2 separate regions of the Homo sapiens genome follow, and region 1 is linked to region 2. Evidence: promoter capture Hi-C in 16 types of primary human blood cells and fetal thymus (Javierre and others, 2016). All regions are on one chromosome and are shown on one strand. The core of a region is centred on a gene start or on the middle of the fragment in contact, and the rest is flanking DNA. Distances in the headings are between cores, read along the strand shown.

The links. Contacts are between HindIII fragments. The CHiCAGO score rates a contact against its expected background, and 5 or more counts as called.
Region 1: the fragment with the promoter of OR2AE1 here is called in contact with the fragment with the promoter of CYP3A43 in region 2 in 6 of 17 cell types (neutrophils, M1 macrophages, total B cells and 3 more); the score reaches 7.1 in neutrophils.

What each region holds. Positions count from the first base shown.
Region 1 is chr7:99,872,383-99,879,835 of GRCh38, reverse strand. OR2AE1 (olfactory receptor family 2 subfamily AE member 1) reads left to right here and starts at 2,803. Exons shown (of 1, transcript NM_001005276.1): 1 at 2,803-3,774. The coding sequence starts at 2,803. The coding sequence ends at 3,774. The HindIII fragment of the contact is 12,247 bases long and covers 2,259-7,453 here.
Region 2 is chr7:99,825,157-99,831,713 of GRCh38, reverse strand. It overlaps CYP3A43 (cytochrome P450 family 3 subfamily A member 43), which reads right to left and starts at 3,701. Exons shown (of 13, transcript NM_057095.3): 1 at 3,528-3,701. The coding sequence starts at 3,598. The HindIII fragment of the contact is 4,482 bases long and covers 2,636-6,557 here.

The DNA of each region.
Region 1 (7,453 bases), core at 1,554-4,053, 49 kb before region 2:
TGCTTTAAGAAGTAAATAGATAATCGTCACCGCATGAAGGTCTAGAAAGACATTTAGGAGAAAAAACACAAAAAAGAATAGGGTGGATATTTGAGGAATCAATTAAGATTACTTTTTTTTTTTGAGACAGAGTCTTGCCCTGTCGCCCAGGCTAGAGTGCAGTGGCACAATCTTGGCTCACTGCAAACTCCACCTCCCGGGTTCAAGGGATTCTAATGCCTCAGCCCCTCGAGTAGCTGCAATTACAGGTATGTGCCACCAAGCCTGGCTAATTTTTGTATTTTTAGTAGAGACAGGGTTTCACTATGTTGGCCAGGCTGGTCTCAAAGTCCTGACCTCAGGTGATCTGCCTGCCTTGGCCTCCCAAAGTGCTGGGATTACAGACCTGAGCCACTGTCCCCTGCCTGAAATTAACAATTATTAATACATCTTATGTTAGATACGGGGGATGACAGAGGAGAAGAAAACAAATATTCAGTACACATACACACACACACAGAATAAATGCCCATAACTATTACAGTTTTTGTTTCTGTAGCTGCTCACATGGTTTTTGGCTGGTATTTATAACGACTTGCTTTCACTACCCATTCCAATTCTCTTTGTCTACAGTTATTCATGACTCTTTGCCTGGTGGGGTAACCCAAACCTTTATTCCTGAAGCATCTGGGCCACTAGCAGTCTTGTCTGAATTGGGTTGTAGTTTTCTATTGGCTTACATCATGAGACATGAGAGTACACCCTAGAAAATCTGACTGCAGACATAATTCTCCATATCCTCACTGTATAGTAGTGACTGAATTTCCCATTGCTAGTCAGAATCAGTCTTACTAGCCAATAGAGTAACCTTATTTGCCTATTGATTCAGTTCTATGAGGAGCCCCAAGTGGCATGGTGGCAGTCTTAACTATCAGAAAATGGGATTATTGTTGTGACACCTGGTAGAAGAATTTCTCCCTTTGGAACTAAGACCTCTAAAACAGCAAAAGCTAAAAGTGAAGGGATAGAAAACTAAAATTGTGCTGGTGGGTCACAGTTATGGGGGCTATAGTGAGAGGACTCATTCTCTCTTCTACCTGGTGATTTCTGGTTCCATGAATCTTGCTATGGGAGGAAGAGCAGCATAAATTGGATGCAGATTTAGAGTATATTTCACATCCTAGAGGACACTGCCCCAGCACCAAAACGTGTTGCCAACCAGATGGTCTTCAAAAGGCCTTCCCTTGGATTCTCCTTTAGTTTTTCTGACTTCTGGGTCAGGTGTGTGCATTCTTTTTTTTTTTTATTTTTTTTTTTTTATTTTTTTTTTTAAGACGGAGTCTCGCTCTGTTGCCCAGGCTGGAGTGCAGTGATGCGATCTCCACTCACTGCAAGCTCCGCTTCCTGGGTTCACACCATTCTCTTGCCTCAGCCTCCCGAGTAGCTGGGACTACAGGCGCCCGCCACCACGCCCGGCAAATTTTTTGTATTTTTAGTAGAGACGGGGTTTCACCGTGTTAGCCAGGATGGTCTCCATCTCCTGACCTCGTGATCCACCTGCCTCGGCCTCCCAAAGTGCTGGGATTACAGGCGTGAGCCGCCGCGCCCGGCCAGGTGTGTGCATTTTTAATCTGGCCATTAAGAAGCGCCCCAGCGGCCGGGTGCGGTGGTTCACGCCTGTAATCCCAGCACTTTGGGAGGCCGAGGCGGGGGGATCACGAGGTCAGGAGATGGAGACCATCCTGTCGAACACGGTGAAATCCCCGTCTCTACTAAAAATACAAAAAATTAGCCGGGTGTGGTGGCAGGCGCCTGTAGTCCCAGCTACTACGGAGGCTGAGGCAAGAGAATGGCATGAACCCGGGAGGCGGAGCTTGCAGTGAGACGAGATCGGGCCACAGCATTCCAGCCTGGGCGACAGAGCAAGACTCCAACTCAAAAAAAAAAAAAAAAAAAAAAAGAGGCGCCCCAGCTTCTGCAGGATATCCACACCGCCAATTTCAGAGACAACAAGAACTGACATGGGTTTCAGTCTGCCTTTGTGGGATTGCAGCTCATGCTTGTGGGTTCCAGCATGACTTTGATCTGCCACTCTTTATATCCATTTTTTTTTTCCTGACTACTTGCCCTCTGGAATTAAAGTTCCAGCATCAGACACAAAGGTAACAGCCACGCATAGATTGCCTAACCAGCTTCCACAATTGTATAAGAGAAATCTCTTAGTGTTATAGCTTTTCTAGTAAAATCCTCACTGATAAAATAAGCAACGCCCCCAAGCTTTTCTCCAAACTGTCTCTCTGTGTGTGTCTGTATAGAGAGAGAGAGCTTAAAAATCTGCCTTCACAAACATGATCACTCTGAAATCTCAGAATATCTAGACTCCATTAAGTATCAAACTTCAAGTCTCTTCTCATTAAGAAAGACAAATGTGTGTGTGTGTGTGTGTGTGTATACATATGTGTGTTTTGGAAGCCTAGGAAGTAAATGGGGAATAAATATATACACACATACATATACATACACACACACACACACACACATATATATCTTTCTTAACGAGAAGAGACTTGAAGTTTGATAATAGAGTCCAGATATTCTGAAATTTCAGAGTGATTATGTTTGTGAAGGCAGATTTCTAAGCTCTCTTTTAAAAAAAGGTTATTTGAATAATTAGAGAGGTTGAATAATTAGAAACGGAAATTTTTTTCACAGGTTCTGTCCTCTATCAAAAGGTGCTTTTCCTTGGGTATACTGGACCCCAGTATTTCCAGTCACACTCTTTATCTCCACTCTCTGTTTCCTCAGGGATTGAGAAAGGGGACAATGTGGCAGAAGAATCAGACCTCTCTGGCAGACTTCATCCTTGAGGGGCTCTTCGATGACTCCCTTACCCACCTTTTCCTTTTCTCCTTGACCATGGTGGTCTTCCTTATTGCGGTGAGTGGCAACACCCTCACCATTCTCCTCATCTGCATTGATCCCCAGCTTCATACACCAATGTATTTCCTGCTCAGCCAGCTCTCCCTCATGGATCTGATGCATGTCTCCACAATCATCCTGAAGATGGCTACCAACTACCTATCTGGCAAGAAATCTATCTCCTTTGTGGGCTGTGCAACCCAGCACTTCCTCTATTTGTGTCTAGGTGGTGCTGAATGTTTTCTCTTAGCTGTCATGTCCTATGACCGCTATGTTGCCATCTGTCATCCACTGCGCTATGCTGTGCTCATGAACAAGAAGGTGGGACTGATGATGGCTGTCATGTCATGGTTGGGGGCATCCGTGAACTCCCTAATTCACATGGCGATCTTGATGCACTTCCCTTTCTGTGGGCCTCGGAAAGTCTACCACTTCTACTGTGAGTTCCCAGCTGTTGTGAAGTTGGTATGTGGCGACATCACTGTGTATGAGACCACAGTGTACATCAGCAGCATTCTCCTCCTCCTCCCCATCTTCCTGATTTCTACATCCTATGTCTTCATCCTTCAAAGTGTCATTCAGATGCGCTCATCTGGGAGCAAGAGAAATGCCTTTGCCACTTGTGGCTCCCACCTCACGGTGGTTTCTCTTTGGTTTGGTGCCTGCATCTTCTCCTACATGAGACCCAGGTCCCAGTGCACTCTATTGCAGAACAAAGTTGGTTCTGTGTTCTACAGCATCATTACGCCCACATTGAATTCTCTGATTTATACTCTCCGGAATAAAGATGTAGCTAAGGCTCTGAGAAGAGTGCTGAGGAGAGATGTTATCACCCAGTGCATTCAACGACTGCAATTGTGGTTGCCCCGAGTGTAGAGTGGAATAGGATAAGCTCCTTAAATTAATTCATATAAACCTCTAAAGTTTTTCAGGGAGATAGCTTCCTTATGCTGTTTTACTACTGGAAGAAAAACACATTTAACACACAATTCCAGTATTCCAGCTTGGTGTCAGGTATCCAAGCACTGTGGAGAACATTTGAGTAGATCTTTAGAGAATTAGGGAAAACTTTTTAAAAAGTCCCTTTGAAAGAAGACATATAAAGGTCACTGACACCCTGAAAAAAAGAAGGCAAGATAAAGATATAAGGGCCCTTATCTATTATTATTTTTATTAACAAAAATATATAAAACATGCCACCAGAGAGTATTTATGGAGTTTAAAATTGGAGTGTGTTGCTTACTTTTGGAAGCATGGGAAGTAAATGGTGAATGATGGCTGTTTGAAAGGGAGGATGCATGATATAAAAGTTGTATTCTTTTTTTTTTTTGTGACGGAGTCTCTCTCTGTCACCTAGGCTGGAGTGCAGTGGCACGATCTTGGCTCACTGCAACCTCCGCCTCCCAGGTTCAAGTGATTCTCCTGCCTCAGCCAGGAGTAGCTGAGTATTACAGAGTAGCTGGGATTACAGGCGCGTGCCACCATGCCTGGCTAATTTTTGTATTTTTAGTAGAGACGGGGTTTCACCATGTTGGTCAGGCTGGTCTTCAACCCCTGACCTCAGGTGATCTGCCCACCTTGGCCTCCCAAAGTTCTGAGATTACAGACGTGAGCTACTGCACCTGGCCCTAAAAGTTATATTCTTAGACCCTTAGTGTTCCATGAATCACAGTGTGTAAGAATTCATAAGGGAAAGAATAATACATTTTGTATACATACATAATAATATATAACATAATTCTTGTAATCCATGTTGTGTTTAACAAATCTTTGTTGAGTGCCTAGTATGATCCAGGTGGTAGACTAGATGTTTGGAATTGCATTGTGAAACTTAAGATTTTTTACACATCTGCTTGTGCTTTTCCTTGGTCTACGTTGGACTTGCCATAGCAGGTAGGCATATTAACTTTTATTATTTCACAGGCTGAAAATACCTTTCTGTTCTTTGAGGGTTCCTAGCCTTGTGATTTGGAATCAGAATGATCTGGAGGAGAGTCTGCCACTTGATAACAGTGGTAAGTTACTTAACCTCTCAAGGCCTCAGTAATCTTATGTGTTTAATGAAAAAAAAAATAGGGTGACCTGAGATTTTGTGTTAGTTATGGGTATTGGTTCCAAGCAACAGAAATGGACTCTGAATGAAACAAGCAGAAAAAAGCCTTATTGAAGGCATGATGGGAAGATGTCAGAATCAGTGGGAGCACTAAAGAACCAGATTTGGAGACTATTACTCACATATCCATTTACTGCCAAATTGTCCACAGAATAAGTCCAAGAAGAGGCCAGTAGTAGAATTCATCCAATGGAGACAAGATTATTTGGGTTTAGCAATATGGGGGAGGACTAACACAGGTCATCATAACCATCTGATCTGCAAGGATCTCTTATAATCTTGCTCTTGAAATTATTCTTCTCTCTTCTGCGTTATAAATTTTCCCAGTCTACTTGATCAGTACCTCAGCCTACAGACATACCTTTATGATTGTCATCTTAAAAAGAAACTTCTCCTCAATCCCGGAAAGTCTAAACCAAGCTCATTCAACCCATGTACTGCAGACCATATGTGGCCTGGGAAGGCTTTGAATGTGGCCCAACACAAATTCATAAACTTTCTTAAAACATTTTCATCATCACTGGCCATCAGAGAAATGCAAATCAAAACCACATTGAGATACCATCTCACACCAGTTAGAATGGCGATCATTAAAAAGTCAGGAAACCACAGGTGCTGGAGAGGATGTGGAGAAATAGGAATACTTTTATGCTGTTGGTGGGACTGTAAACTAGTTCAACCATTGTGGAAGTCAGTGTGGCGATTCCTCAGGGATCTAGAACTAGAAATACCATTTGACCCAGCCATCCCATTACTGGGTATATACCCAAAGGATTATAAATCATGCTGCTGTAAAGACACGTGCACACGTATGTTTATTGCAGCACTATTCACAATAGCAAAGACTTGGAACCAACCCAAATGTCCAACAATGATAGACTGGATTAAGAAAATGTGGCCCATATACACAGAATACAATGCAGCCATAAAAAATGATGAGTTCATGTCCTTTGTAGGGACTTGGATGAAGCTGGAAACCATCATTCTCAGCAAACTATTGTAAGGACAGAAAACCAAACACCGCATGTTCTCACTCATAGGTGGGAATTGAACAGTGAGAACACCTGGACACAGGAAGGGGAACATCACACACCAGGGCCTGTTGTGGGGTGGGGGGAGAGGGGAGGAATAGCTTTAGGAGATATACCTAATGTAAATGACGAGTTAATGGGTGCAGCACACCAACATGGCACATGTATACATATGTAACAAACCTGCACGTTGTGCACATGTACCCTAGAACTTAAAGTATAAAAAAAATTATGAGATTTTAACTTTTATTTATTTATTTTTTAGCTCATCAGCTGTCATTAGTTTTAGTGTATTTTATGTGTGGCCCAAGACAATTCTTCTTCCAGTGCGGCCTGGGGAAGCCAAAAGATTGGACGTCCACCCATGGTCTAAACAGTCTTACAGAAGAATTCCTTGAAACAGTTTTCTTTTTTTTTTTTGAGATGGAGTCTTGCTCTGTTGCCCAGGCTGGAGTGCAGTGATGCGATCTCCACTCACTGCAAGCTACGCCTCCTGGGTTCATGCTATTCTCCTGCCTCAGCCTCCCGATTAGCTGGGACTACAGGCACCCGCCACCATGCCTGGCTAATTTTTTGTATTTTTAGTACAGACAGGGTTTCACCATGTTAGCCAGGATGGTCTCGATCTCCTGACCTCGTGATCCGCCCGCCTCGGCCTCCCAAAGTGCTGGGATTACAGGCGTGAGCCTCCGTGCCCGGCCGAAACAGTTTTCTTTACTTGTTATTTCCACTTTTTCTGCTTCCATTTTCTCCTGAGCTCACTTCAGTTGGCTTTTGTCATCATCAATCTATGGAAACCATTAGTATGATTGTCACAAATGGCCTCCTTGTGGCCACATTTAATGGCCAATTTTCACTTGCTCTTAGCCAAAAGGCCAAGAAGCGATCAATGACCAATTTTCAATGTACCCAACAGCCTTTGACAAAGTTGATTATGCCTTCCTTTTTTGAAACACTTTCTTCACTGAACGCTACACTCACTTTAACTCCTACTTCATTGAGTCTTCATTTTCCATTTCCTTTGCATTTAAATTCTTTCATGTTACTTCCTTGTTCTCATGCTCTTCTACAGCAGCGATTCTCAAACATGAGTACACATTAGAATCATCTGAAGGTCATGTTAAAGCAGTTGGCTGGGCCCTAGTTCCAGGGTTTCTGATTCAGAGTTTCTGATTCAAAAACTCTGAATTTACATTTTTAATAAATCCCAAGTAGTGCTGATGCTGTTGATGTAGGTACTACATCTAGAAAATGTATTTTTCTTCCAGAATATCCATGGTGACAATTTAGCAGATGAATAAATTTAGGCTTCTGTGAACAGAGGAGAAAATAATCCCCCTGACTCCCGATGCCACACTGCTTCCCTGTCTTCTCATGGGAGCCGTCCCCTCTTGGGTGGCCCATTGTAGTC
Region 2 (6,557 bases), core at 2,452-4,951:
ATCCTGCAGGAAAACCCATTAAGTCTGGTGCTCCTTATGGCAGGCCTGCCTGCAACTCATCTTTGATGGGTTATGTGTGAACTCCATCAATTGCAGGTTCTGGATCCTTGCAGAACTTCCCACTCTGGTGTTACTGAGGGATGGAAGACTGGAGGAAAAAGAGAGGCTGCATCCCGCCGATGTAACCATGCAACTGCTGGTGCCACAAAGTAGGCCCTATAAGGGTAAGTTAGGAAAGTGTGGCTGAAAATTATGGTATGCATAAATAGTTTTAAATGCCCCTTATGTGCTTTCAGCTGAAAGAGAGGTCTTCCAAAATTCAGGAACATTTCTGTTGATAGAAAAGTTTCACTGTGCTACATAGCATAAGTAACCATAAAATATTCCAGACAGTTGAATTAGAAACTTGATTTCTCTTCTTTATAGGTTAGCTTTTCTTAGATCCTAAATATTCAGTACAAATAAATAAATCTTATAAAATGTGATAAAGCTGAAAAATTGCATGAAGAGAATGTGTTTGAAGGACCCCACAGTGGCACCCTGGCCAGGCCCAGCTGTTAGCTTGGTTCCCTCTTTGGGGATCTTTTCCTACTCACACATCGAAAATAACCTCTTGGGTTTCCAGTTGTTTATAATCCATTATCTGCCCATGCTAAATTCTGGTTGTTAGTCTAGGTAGATCAAAACTCATAGTCAATCAGAAAGCATCCCCAGGATTGAATGATGTCAGTAAACACTCTTAGTAACAGAAATTGGAAGTTGAATGAAGAGGAGGTGGATAATGTTTATTTACTTCTTCAACGGATCTGTGTAACATCTGTAGGGTCAAGAGAACATTCCTCTATGGAGGTTTGATATTTGAGTCTGAGAAATGAACTAACAGTAGATCAATTAATAGGAGATAATCCTTATAAATTTATCTCATGAATATGCATGGGAGCCTTGAAAGATATGATACTCAAAGAATGGCCTGATGATTGAAGCTTAAATAGCATTCTGAGCTATAAAAATGTAGTATCTTCTGATGGGGAGTGGGTGACACAAGACATGAGAGAGTGAGGGAAGAAAAAGCATGATAAACAAAAGTCATCTTATTATAATGTCTGTCAGGCATCAGTGCTCCAAAGAACAAGTATTATCAACCTTAGTCTCCCTTTCTGTGAGCTAATATTATTTTTTTCTTTTTTTTTTCTTTTAGACTAAGTTTTGCTCTTGTTGTTCAGGCTAGAGTGCAATGGCGCAATCTTGGCTCACTGCAACCTCTGCCTCCAGGGTTCAGGCGATTCTCCTGCCTCAGCCTCCCGAGTAGCTGGGATTGCAGGCACCTGCCACCACACCCAGCTAATTTTTGTATATTTAGTAGAGACAGGGTTTCATCATGTTGACCAGGCTGGTCTTGAACTTCTGACCTCACGTGATCCACCCACCTCGGCTTTCCAAAGTGCTGGAATTACAGGTATGAGCCACCATGCCTGGCCCTGCTAAGATTCTTTTTCATGAGATTATAGGGAGGGGGCTCAAGACCATTGCTTTTTTTTAGGAGGATCTTCCTTTAGGTATGAGAACTTCAGAGAAAGCCCCTTCCTATATTTTGGGAGAAATAGCAGGGTTGGGAGACAGGAGAACATAAGAGTTAGCTTGGTTCTGAAGACTTTCTGAGACCTTTCAATTTCCTTTGGTTCAAAGTCCTCAACATGCTTAAGTGCCATATTTTGGGGTTTCATTTTTGGAGCCCCAACTTTCCCCTGTCATAAACTTCCCTAGAAAATGTACATACTAAAGCTGAGTTGATGCTTGTGGAGAGGACAATTGAATTGGTAGCTGAGTCGCAAGGAATCACATTAAACCAGTATAAACCAGTCTCACATTCCTAGCAATGTCAATCCAGTTAAACAGCTGTGCCTCATTTCAGGAGGTGATGTTGCAGGTCTGCTGTCATGAAAGATAGGTCTGTATATGGTGCAGTTAAACAGGTACTTAATAAGAGGTCATTCTACCAAAGCAAAAGGAGACCAAAAGTTAATCATTTAGCAGACTAGTTTCTGAGTTCACAGGGCAGCCAGACAAAAAGATTTCTACATGTTGGTTTTGAAACAGCTCCAGTTGGAGTAGAGGTAGGCAATGGTGATCTGACAGATTTTTTTTCTCTCCTATAGCTCCTTAGGGCCAGATCTGAAAGACTTTAAGTTGTTGCAATTTCTCTGGAGTCTGCTCTATCACAAAGAATTCTGCAAAAATCACATTTCCTGCCTTTGTGGACCAAACCAATGTATTTCTTAAATGTATTTGATATCTCATGCCTCCCTAAAAGAATAAAACCAAGCTGCACCCTGACCACCTTGGGTACATGTTCTTAAGACCTCCTGAAGGCTGTGTCATGGGCCATGGTCACTCATATTTGGCCCAGAATAAATCTCTTCAAGTATTGTACAGAGTTTGGCTCTTTTTGTTGGCAGCATGTATTAACTCATTCTCTATTACAATTCCCCTGTCTTGATGAATGGGCTCTGTTGAGGCAGGGGGCAAGGTGAATCTCTTGGGTGGTTACAGTGAAAATCCATACAAAATTTTACATGCATATGTGCTGGAGGCCCACAATATATGAGACTAAAATAAGGACTGAATGAGTAAAGCTTAAATAGCATTGTAAGCTAAAAAGTAGGGAGTGGCTTCTGATAGGGAGTTTCTGACACAAGTTATGGGAAGGTGAAGGGAGAAAACACATGATGAACAAAGGTTATTTTATTGTGGAGATAAAGTCTCTCAGGTAGCAGTGCTCCAAAGAATAAGTATTATCAAACTTTTTCTCTTTTCCTGTGAATTAGTTTTCTGATTGATGAGATTATTTGGAGAGGCTCAAGACAATTGCATTCTTTTTGGAAGATCTTCCCTTAGTCAGATAAGAGAACTTCAGAGCAACCCTGCACTTCAGGAGGGAAAGAATGGGGGATGGGTAGACAGAAGAGGGTCAGAGATTCTGAAGACATTTGTGAAGTCTTTCAGTCTTCTTTAGTTCAAACTACTCAGTATGACAAAGTTTTATTTTTTTTTTTGAGACGGAGTCTTGCTCTGTCACCCAGGCTGGAATGCAGTGGTGCAATCTCCGCTCACTGAAACCTCTGCCTCCTGGGTTCAAGCGATTCTCCTGCCTCAGCCTCCCAAGTAGCTGGGATTACAGGTGTGTGCCACCATGCCTGACTAATTTTTGTATTTTTAGTAGAGAAGGGGTTTCACCATGTTGGTCTGGCTGGTCTTGAACTCCTGACCTTGTGATTGGCCTGCCTCCACCTCCCAAGTGCTGAGATTACAGGTGTGAGCCACCGCACCCAGACTAAATTTTACATTTTCAAATGTTGTATTAGGAGTCCTAACATATTAATAATATTTTATGTGTTCACAGTATTTGGCACTTAGGTAACTTCCCCTCCGTTATCTCTTTTATCTTCAAAACAAATAAGAAAAAGATGGGCCCAATTAGCACTTCAGGTCTTAGAGTTAAGAGCAAACATGCCTGCATAGTTACTCACATATAGAGGAGTACCAGGCTGGTAGCCACAAGAACCCATGTTTCCATGGCAAAGTTTGGAATGAGATCCATCACCAGTTTTCTTTTTCAGCTCTGTCTTCTGAGTTTTTCTTTCAGCTGTGTGCTGCTCTTTGCTGGGCTGTGCATATAGAGCTTTGTTTCTCTGCCCAGAGGTGATTTAGTTAATGTTAACAGCGATATTTATGTGCTGGAGAAGGAGGTGGGTCTACAGCGGCAGCCAGTAGAAAAGCCACTTATGCTACTCCTCATATGGAGGGATTTGGGTACCCTTTTCAAATTGACAATTGGCAAATAATTATGGCTGTCCTTATTTTGGCCTCCTTTGATTTCCTATTCTGTGAACAATCAGTAAACAAATCAGTCACTGCTATTGGTAAGCCCAAAGGTTATAGATTCTCAGGAACCTAAAGAAAAATACTTCTGCAAGAACATCTGCCCAGCAACTGCCTGTCCAACCTCAAACTGATGTCAGTCTTGTTATTGATCTTTATAGCCAAGGATAATCATTCCAAAACAAATATGTAATCCTTCTCATTATTTTTTTAAACTTTGTCTTACTTTACCTACCTGAATAAGCACATAGTTTACCTTGGCACGCATATTCCCATTGCAATGCTTTATTCCCAAATAAAAATAATTCTTTTTAGAAAGCCTATCTCTGTTTGTTATCTAGGTTGCCAAATCATGCCTCCAGGTAAACAGACAAGAAGGACTCCCTGTGCCTCAAAAGCAAAAACAAACCCAAGAGGCCATGGCAGGTTTAGGTGATGGTCATGTTCTCTGTGTTCTTAGTAAGTGTTGCAAAACCTATTTTTCTGTAGCCAAGTCAAATAACATTTTCTGAAAAAATCTGTACCTGGGAATTTTCCAACTGCTCACCAACAGATCATGTGGTAAGAACTAACTGACCACCTAGGAACAGCCAATTAAGAGACATGTGACTTGGGGCTTAAAGGCTGTCTAATCAAGACTCTTTTCTTCACTCCTCTGACTCCTCTATCCTGCTCTGTGGTTTTTGACTTTATAGCTCTCCACCTCCGAGGCTGCATCTCCTCAATCTGCAGACTGTGTTTTATAGAAAATGAAGCTCTCCCTCTGTCCTCCACAGATCCCACAATCTTTACTCATATTTCCTGGTGATGAGGAAGGGATCAAAATTGGCTCTCAAGATCCTCTCCCTTGTCATCTGGACTAATCAATGCATTGGCACCAGCAAGAGTCCTCTAAGCTCAGTTATCTTCCTGGCCTGGCTGTTTTGTGGAAAAATCAGTAAATCCTCTTACATCCAAGATCTCACATTTAGGATGAGGTCTTGAGGTCTTTATTTTTTTCAGGGAACCTGCCCTTCTGGCTCTATGGCTACCCACTTGTGGGGTATGCTTGCACTTGGAGGGGCATGCCCATGTTTCTTGGGGTGCATTCATGCTGCATCAAGCAAGTTCATGCCTCACAGGATACTCCATGCTTCAGTGTTGCAAGGACTATCGCATTTTATTTGCCCTTGAAGGGACCCCTTCCTAAGGTGAGGGCTATGCATAACCTAGGTCCTAAGGCCATGGTCTCTAAGGCCTGCCATCGGGTAATTCGGTGGCTCTGTCTCTGATCAATCACTATCAGGTACTCTGGCAGTTTTTCAAGTTTAAAATTTAAAGGTAAAGGCTCGACAGAAATGGATGTGAGAGATACACCTAAATTGAACTCCGAAGCATGCAATGAGGATAAGAGGAGTCTGGACTTCTCAAAGACAGTAAGAGGCTTTCTTTCAATCTGCATTTTTGAAAGTTTCAAACACAATTGGGACTTTGGCTGTGTTTTACTAGGAGACTAACCTGAAGAGTTAACCCATGTCTCAGAAAATCTGAAAAACTTGAAGACCCTAAAATGGAGAGTCCCATATCTTCCTGCTGCTGCACTTGCATTCTACCTCCACTTTTCCCTTTTTACCATCACTGTCTTTGTCTGGAACATTGCAGGGACCTGGCAACTTGGTACCAGCAGGGGCCATTGAGCCCCTGGCTCCTTCATGATGATTGAAAACTGGGTGGGTCTCTCATGAGTTTTGGACTTCCCACTTGATTGACAGCTGTCAGTTTTGTTCAGCTAGTTGTTCTTACCCCTGGATAAAAGGGGGTGAAAGAAAGTCTCTTTCTTTGAGACTTACTGTTTCTCAAGAAGGGGGAATCACTCTGTATTTCTCCTCCATAAACATATGAATGAATATGTATGCTATTTCTCCCATTAATCTCCTTTGTGGGTGATTTTTTTTGTTGTTAACAAACCTTCAGAGGAGAAAGGACAAACATTTTTCTTGGCCTCAGCAGTTCTGTCCCTATGAGCAGGATACCAAAGCCACTCTGTTCTTTCAGAAGCCTCAGTGAAGGGAGCCCAAGCACTTGTAAGTCAGCAGAAAAGTAAGAATTTCTTTTTTTTTCTTTTTCTTTTTTTGACAGAGTCTCATTTTATTACCCAGGCTGGAATGTAGTGGTGTGATCTTGGCTCACTGCAATCTCCGCCTCCTGGGCTCAAGTGATCCTTCTATCTCAGTCTCCCAAGTAGCTGGGACTACAGGCACATGCCTCCATGTCTGGCTGAGAAAAGTAAGAATTTCTTTCCAGACAAGCTCCTGGCCTTTCTTTCTGGGAGATCCACTTGGGCAGATGTTAAGAATTGCTCTTTGTCTCCTCTGCAAAATCTTAATAAATAGGAGAAAAGGATTTGTGTTACTAGTGCTGGGTGCAGCAACTCTAGGGTACTCTCTAGTACTTTCTCTTATGAATACTCACATCGTTTGATCCCCTTTTCCTCTAGAAATAGTCTTTTCCTTTGTTCCTGTATTTCTGTGCTGTTCTGTCATAAAAGGGGCTACAGGAGTGTAGAACATGGGCCTGAAACCCCTATAAGCCCACTTGTTGGAGCTGGCTCTGCGGACTGAGCAGCTGGTGCTTCTGAAGAACACACCTGTTGTTCTACACATGTCCAGCTCTCGGGGGAGTTTCTCTTAAGAAGCCCC